2 separate regions of the Homo sapiens genome follow, and region 1 is linked to region 2. Evidence: promoter capture Hi-C in human tissues and cell types (Jung and others, 2019). All regions are on one chromosome and are shown on one strand. The core of a region is centred on a gene start or on the middle of the fragment in contact, and the rest is flanking DNA. Distances in the headings are between cores, read along the strand shown.

The links. Contacts are between HindIII fragments. The study calls those that stand out against the background at their distance.
Region 1: a contact is called between a fragment that was not itself captured here and the fragment with the promoter of ZBTB21 in region 2, in 2 of the 25 tissues and cell types used here (mesendoderm cells and thymus).

The regions. Positions count from the first base shown.
Region 1 is chr21:41,779,222-41,782,690 of GRCh38, reverse strand. No RefSeq gene overlaps it. Among named protein-coding and RNA genes, the nearest start is that of RIPK4, 14 kb to the right of the region's middle. The HindIII fragment of the contact is 9,090 bases long and covers 1-3,469 here.
Region 2 is chr21:42,009,110-42,012,642 of GRCh38, reverse strand. ZBTB21 (zinc finger and BTB domain containing 21) reads left to right here and starts at 2,283. Exons shown (of 3, transcript NM_001098402.2): 1 at 2,283-2,391. ZNF295-AS1 (ZNF295 antisense RNA 1) reads right to left here and starts at 3,449. Exons shown (of 2, transcript NR_119384.1): 1 at 3,059-3,449. RefSeq lists silencers at 1,471-2,210, 2,651-2,960, 3,001-3,110. The HindIII fragment of the contact is 7,901 bases long and covers 1-3,533 here.

The DNA.
Region 1 (3,469 bases), core at 26-2,525, 230 kb after region 2:
GCGTATATAACTTGGACCTGCTACTGTTTCATAACTTTTATTTTTCCCAAATATAGTATGCATCATTATTTGCACGATCATCTCAATTCTTTTCTTGGTTCAGCAATGTGTTTTGTTTTATCATTTTAAAAATAAAAATGGTGGCCAGGCATGGTGGCTCACGCCTGTAATCCCAGCACTTTGTGAGGCCGAGGTGGGCAGATCACCAGGTCAGGAGTTCGAGACCAGCCTGGCCAACATGGTGAAACCCTGTCTCTACTAAAAATACAAAAATTAGCTGGTCGTGGTGGCAGGCGCCTGTAATCCCAGCTATGTGGGAGGCTGAGGCAGGAGAATTGCTTGAACCTGGGAGGCGGAGGTTGCAGTGAGCGGAGATCATGCCATTGCACTCCAGCCTGGGCGACAAGGGCAAGACTCCATCTCAAAAAAAAAAAAAAAAAAAAAAAAGGCATATATTTACATTGTGTAACATGATGTGTTGATAGAGATACTCACAGCAAAGTTACTACGGTCAAGCATATGAACATGTCCACCTCCCCACGGTTGCGTTTTGTGTGTTTGTGTGGTGACAGCACCTGAAATCTCTCTTGGTAAATTTCCGGGGTACAGCACAGAATTGTTAAGTACAGTCCTCAGGCTCTGCACTGGACCTCTAGACTTAGTCGTCCTATGTAACTGCAACTCTGTACCCTTTTAAAATGATATATTGTTAAAAAGTAAATATGTTTTGCTGACTTTTAAAATTGATAGTAAAAATAATTAAATCATGAAAATCTGTCCATTGCTAGTGGATAGAGGTAACTAATAAACTTGGAGGGTGGGAGAAAACAGGGAGGAAATAGGCATTTTTAAAAACTGTAAGTAAACTTTCAATAATATATTTCCCCTTTCATTCTCACAATGGCTGTCTCCCTAAAGGTTCACCCCAAGAAACACAGTGCAGCTCGCTTTGGTAGAAATGACAGTTTCCCATTTATGTAAAATTAGTTGGCATAAAGTGTAGAGGAGGAAGAGAGAGCATTGCTGTTTGGAGGAACAAGTTCCCCAAATATGTATTTACATTATGATAATGAGCCTAATTAATAGAATGCTTGCATTATCCATTTTTATTGATTTTAATTATTATTTCGTGCTGATATTTTCCTTGTCTTTTATGATTTTTTATTTTTTTGAGACAAGGTTTCACTTTGTTGCCCAGGCTGGAGTGCAGTGTTGTGATCATGGCTGACTGCAGCCTCAAACTCCTGGGCTCGAGCAATCCTCCCACCTCAGCCTCCAAAATATCCAGGATCACAAGTGCATGCCACCATGTTCGCTAATTTTGTTTATTTTGGGGGGAGACGGGGTCTCACTCTGTTGCCCAGGTTAGTCTTGAACTCCTGGGCTTGAGTGATCCTCCCACTTTCCAGAGTGCTGGGATTACAGGCATGAGGCACTGTGTCTGGCCAATATTTTTCTTTTAAATTACAGCTTCTTAACTTTTATTTTCTCATGCCAAAAATCTCAGTTCTTTACCATAGAGCTAATGATAGAGTTTCTATATCACATTTCCTTTATGCTTCAACACACACAGGGCAGTCTCAGGATAACATCAACACTCAGCCAATAGTGTGATTGTGGGAAAGGGGTTAAGATGCCTCCCTCCCTCCTTCCCTCCCTCCCTCCCTCCCTCCCTTCCTTCCTTCCTTCCTTCCTTCCTTCCTTTCCTCCCTCTCCTCCCTCCCCTCCTTCCTTCCTTTCTTTCTTTCCTCCTCTCCTCTCTCTTTCTTTCTCCCTCCCTCTCTTGCTTTCTTTCTCTTTCTCTCTCTTTCTCTCTCTCCCTCCCTCCCTCCTTTCTTTCTTTCTTCCTTTCCTTCCTTTCTTCCTTTCCTTTCTTTCTCTGTTCTTTTTGCCCTTAGTGCATTTTCCACTAGTAGTTACTTTTAAATTCCTACGTTTTAAAGTCAATTGGAATAGCTCCCCTCTGGTTAGTCAGGCTACCAAATGGATACACATTTGGTTCATTTGTCTTATTTTATTTTTGGTATTTAGACATTGCTTTTTAAAGTTAATTGTGTTTTATAAGGATGTAAAATATTTGCATGGTTTCATAGTCAAATCTAGAAAACAGGGCATGTGCAACAAGGACTTGTGTCTTCCCCCAGAGACTTCCAGCCCCCTCCCTGTGGACTGTGCTCACACTGTTTATTTTTAGAATGGAAGCAGATAGGGAGAGATAGATTGATTGATGGTAGATAGATGATAGAGAACAGGTAGGCAAGTAGTTAGGTAGTACATAGATGATGAATGGTAGAAACATAGATAGATAATAGATGGATGGGAATAAAGATAGTAAATAGATAGACAGAGGGATGGGTCCCTATTTCCTGCCTGTACTGGAAAAATGGAAGATTTCCTCCACCTTGCTCTGTTCAGAGTGGTCTGTGCAATCACTCCAGAGGCACGTGTAGACACAGTCCTCCTCCCATTTTCACAATTGCACGGCAGTCTTTCCTATGGATGAGTGATAATAATTCAACCATCGCCCATCCATGGGGATTTGGGGTGCTTCACATCTTTTGCTTTTACAGACTATATAATACATTAAGAGAAGTGGGTCTCATTATGTAAATGCCTGCGCCTTGCTTTTTTTATTGAATATAATTTGATTTTATTATATTTGTTTTCACTTTTTAAATGGCTGTGTATATGATGTATATGATAAGATCTCAATTGAAATAATATTTGGATTTGTTATCACTGTGTTTTCCTTCCCCTGCTGTTTGAAAAAGGCAGCCCTTTTCATGCTTCCTTGTCTGAGAGAACTCAAGCAGCACAGCAGCAGGTGCAGAGGCTCTCCCTGGAAGCCTAGGCTTACTGCAGCCAAGCTGTTAGGAGCGAGTGCTACTATCACCGGTCGAGGGTCATAACTGCAACTTGTCCAGGTTCTTGGCATTTTGAACAAAGAATTGGACAAAACGCCCAACAAAGCAAAGAAAGAATGAAGCAGCAAAAGAACGAAAGCAGGAATTTATTGAAAACCAAAGTACACTCCACAGTATGGGAGCGGACCCGAGCAGCGGCTCAAGGGCCTGGATACAGGATCTTCTTGGGTCCAAATATCCCCTAGAAGTTTCCAATTGGCCACATCATGCTCACCTCATGTAAATGAAGGTGCCAAAAGCAACCAGTCAGAGGCTAGGGTGAAGTTACAAAGTTATACTTCTATGCAAACGAAGGCTGAGCCCGCAATCAGTCTGATTCGTTGTGGACAGCAACCGTTCAGAGACTGGAGCGAAGGTACAGAGGTGCAAACGAAGACTCCACCCACAATCAGTCTGATTGGTTGCGGACAGCCAATTTCCCATTTGCCTCGAGGAAAAGGTGGGGGGGTTTAGAAAGGGAATAGCCTCTGGTCCTTTTGTTACTTAGGAGTGGAAAGTTAGGGTTTTCCTTTCAATTTAGTTGTAGGAAGTCTGAGTGAAACAGC
Region 2 (3,533 bases), core at 1,034-3,533:
GAGCCCACCATGGTGCCCACATTCCTGGCTCCAGCAACTGGGCATATGTTCCAAGCATGGATGAGACTGCATAGGGTGTGTGTGCCAAGAAACCCAGTGCGAGCATGGGCAGGGGCAGAAGGGCCAACACAGCCGGCCCAGGAGGAGCAGTCAGCCAAGAGGTGGGAAATCCAGGGAATGAGGCGTAACTGAAGCAATCACTGCTGAAGCAATTGGAAGCGTGTCACAAATCAAAGAGAGCAACTGAAAGATGCAACGGTTTCTGCCAGATTTGGCAGTCAGGTCAATTCCAGTGAAATGGTGAGGCCAAAAGCCTGATCATATAGCTCAAAGCAGAGACACCAATGTGTATCGTCCTGAGGAAGGTTGAAAAAACAAAAAACAAAACAAAACAAAAAAACAGCTAAGCAGGTGGCTAGAAAGGGATCGCTCAAGGGAGGCTGCTTCCAGCATGCGGTAAAGCCAGTACTAGTTTTCTCACCTATAAAACTAGGATAACAGCACACACTCCCCCAGCCTAATCACAGGGGAACCTAAAACTCAAGGTTCTTTTAAGACTTATAATCACTGTTGCCTTCTACCTTCAGAACAGTCACTTTGTGCTTTTCCACCATACAGTTCAAAATACAGACACTCTTTAGGCTGGGCATGGTGGCTCACACCTGTTATCCAAGCACATTGGGAGGCTGAGGCGGGTGGATTGCTTCAGACCAGGAGTTTGAAACCAGCCTGAGCAACATGGTGAAACTCCATCTCTACCAAAAATACAAAAATCAGCTAGGTGTGACGGATGCACCTATAGTCCCAGCTACTGCCGAGGCTGAGACGGGAGGATGGCTTGAGCCAGGGAGTGGAGGCTGCAGTGAGCTGAGATCATGCCACTGCACTCCAGCCTGGGACTGACAGAGACTCCATCTCAGGAAAAAAAAAAAAAAATTTAAAGTGTTTTAAAGTTGTAGGAGAAAATTTTTAGGTGCAAGATTCTTTATGTAAGACTAAGAGTCCTCTTAAAATTAGTCAAACTAATAATCTACAACAGAGCTGTTAATTTGGCAACAAATTTTTAATTTGTATCAATCTAATGTCTGTCTTTCACATACTTCCAAACATTACATAAATTATTTTACCTAGTGCATACAACTTTCAAAAACTGTATTTGGCAATTAACAGACCCCTGACAATTATTAACAGGGGTTTTACATCCCGGAGTTTGAGTGTCTGCGGGAGAACCGTCCCTGCAGGAGGCACTCCCCCTCCACCTGCGACCCGGGCTGGGAGAACGCGCGGAGGGCTCCCTTGAGCGGTCTCCGCCAGCGAGGCTTTCCTCCCGGTCGGTGTTGACAGTGTGGCATTTCTGTTATCTAATTTCTGGTTTTGACTGAAAGCGAAGTGAGTTTTCTCATCAGTGGAGTTGTAATATTTCTGCAAAAAAAAAAAAGATCACAGCCCTCCGATGAGCCGGGCACTATGCGAAGTCTCCGGCTGCCTGCGGGCCGCTGTGGACGCCCCGGCGGGGGTCAGGACCGACCCCCATCTGCGCGGCGAACGAGCCCGGACGCCCTGGCCGCGGCCGCCGGGTCCCCGCCCAGGGGCCAGGTGGCCAGGTTGCGTCGGGAGGAGGAAATGGAAGCGCTCTGAGCGACTAGCGAGCGGCAGGAGCCGCCTCCCGCGGGCTTTCCTCGCGGGCCGGGAGCGTCTGCCGCCGACCCGAGGACCGCAGGGCCCCGCTCGCCGCCCGCGCCCGTCAGAAAGCCGCGCGTCGCTCCCGTCGCTGTCGGGGTCGTCGGCTCGGGGAGTCGCCCGCCGTCCACCGGTGAACGGGAGCGCGTCCTCCCCTCCGAGGGACTAAGCGCTCGCGCCACGCATCCCGCCGCGCCGGAAGCGGGGACTACTGGCGGCCCAGCTGGGCAGGACCGCGGCCGAATGACCCGGGGCGACCCCGCAGCAAGGGCGCCTCCGGCAGGCGGCAAAGTCCCCTGAGAATCGGCGCGCTCCTCGCCGCGACGGACTCCACCCGGCCGGGGCGCTCAGCCTCCTCGCCGTGGCCCCCAGCCCGGCCGCCTCCCCTAACGGCCGCCGCAGGCTCCCCTCATGGACCGAGAGCGCGGGCTTGCAGCGCGGCAGCGTCCGTTCGGCGCGCGGCTCCGGGCAGGCCCGCCCTCCCCCGTCCCCCTGCGCCGCGAGGCCCCCCCCCCGCCCCGCCCTCCGGCGCCCGGCGCCCAATCAGAGTGCCGCGCACGTGACGAGCGATGCCTGCGATGACCTCATCCCTGGTGTGGGATGACGTCAAATTCAAGATGGATGGAATCACAGCGGCAGCGGCGGCTGCGGCGCGCGCGAGCCGAGTGTGAGCGGAAAGGGGCCCGGCGTCTGCCTCGAGACTGAAGACCGGTGAGTAACTGTCACGCCCCTAGCTCTAGGAGAACTGCGGGGCTCCTTGGGAGGCTACAGCCTCCCCGCAAAACGCGGCCTTTCCTGACGTAACTCTGAGGTGATTTCTCTCCTCTTTTTTCTCCACCAGCGGGTTGCGGGCTCCGAGCGCTTCTGCGCGTGCGCGGGACCTGGGCGCTCACCGAGCATGTCCCGGGTTCCCACGTAGCCGATTGTACCTTCACACTGCGCACGCTCCCTGCCAGCACTTGGCCTCGCCCTCGCGAATGCGCATGCTCCATTCCCTCACGGGCTTCACTCTTCACCCTGGCCGAGCTGCCCCTGGGGTAGGGGACACGCCTGGCCCAGGCGCGCGCCCCTCGCGCGGAGCGGTTGAAACGCCTCGTGGAGAAGGGCGCGTTCTCCTGTTCCGGGCAGGGGTTGGGGGCCGGCGGCCCGGGCCGCGGGGTGTGCGCGGAAGCTGGCCGGCGGCCTTGGGGACCCCGCACCTGCCGCGACCCGCCGCTCCCTTCACGGTCCGGGACCTAGCCCCGCCGCCCCGTCCTCGGCCCGGTGGCCGGAGCGTGACCGCTCGGTGCCCGCTGGACGCTCCCTCCCCGCCCCCGGCCCCTCCCGCGGACGCCTGGACCTCACAGCGCGTTTTTTTTCCTCCAGAGCCCCCGCAGACCTTGTCTGGGACTTCCCGGCGGTCCCGCAGAGCATAGCACCCTCCGCCGGCCAGGAGCCCTGCTGCTCGGCCGGCGACCGTCTCCCCGCTTGGAGGAGCCCCCTTCCCCCCGTCCGAGGTCCGCGGCTGGAGGGGCAGGGAGTCAAGACGCCACCCGTGCCGGCCTTAGAGACGCCCGCGGCAGCCCCGCCACATCTCTTCCCGGCTTTTCGGGAACACGCCCCGTAGTCCATCCTCAGCGGCTCCTGCTTTTCCATCCCAGCACACCGCTGGGGGCTCGCACTCTGCCCCCGGTTGCTATGCGGTCCCAGCCACGAGGGCTCTGCGGTTCGGGAGAATTCCGCAAGAGCGCGCGTTCGGAGGCGGGGTGTTTTTAGACAGGTGCCCCGGTGGGATTGCCTGACCGAGAGGACGGGGAAAGTTAGACTTCACACGGCCTGGGGTTTTTCCTTTCGTGCAAGCGCTCACAGCCCTG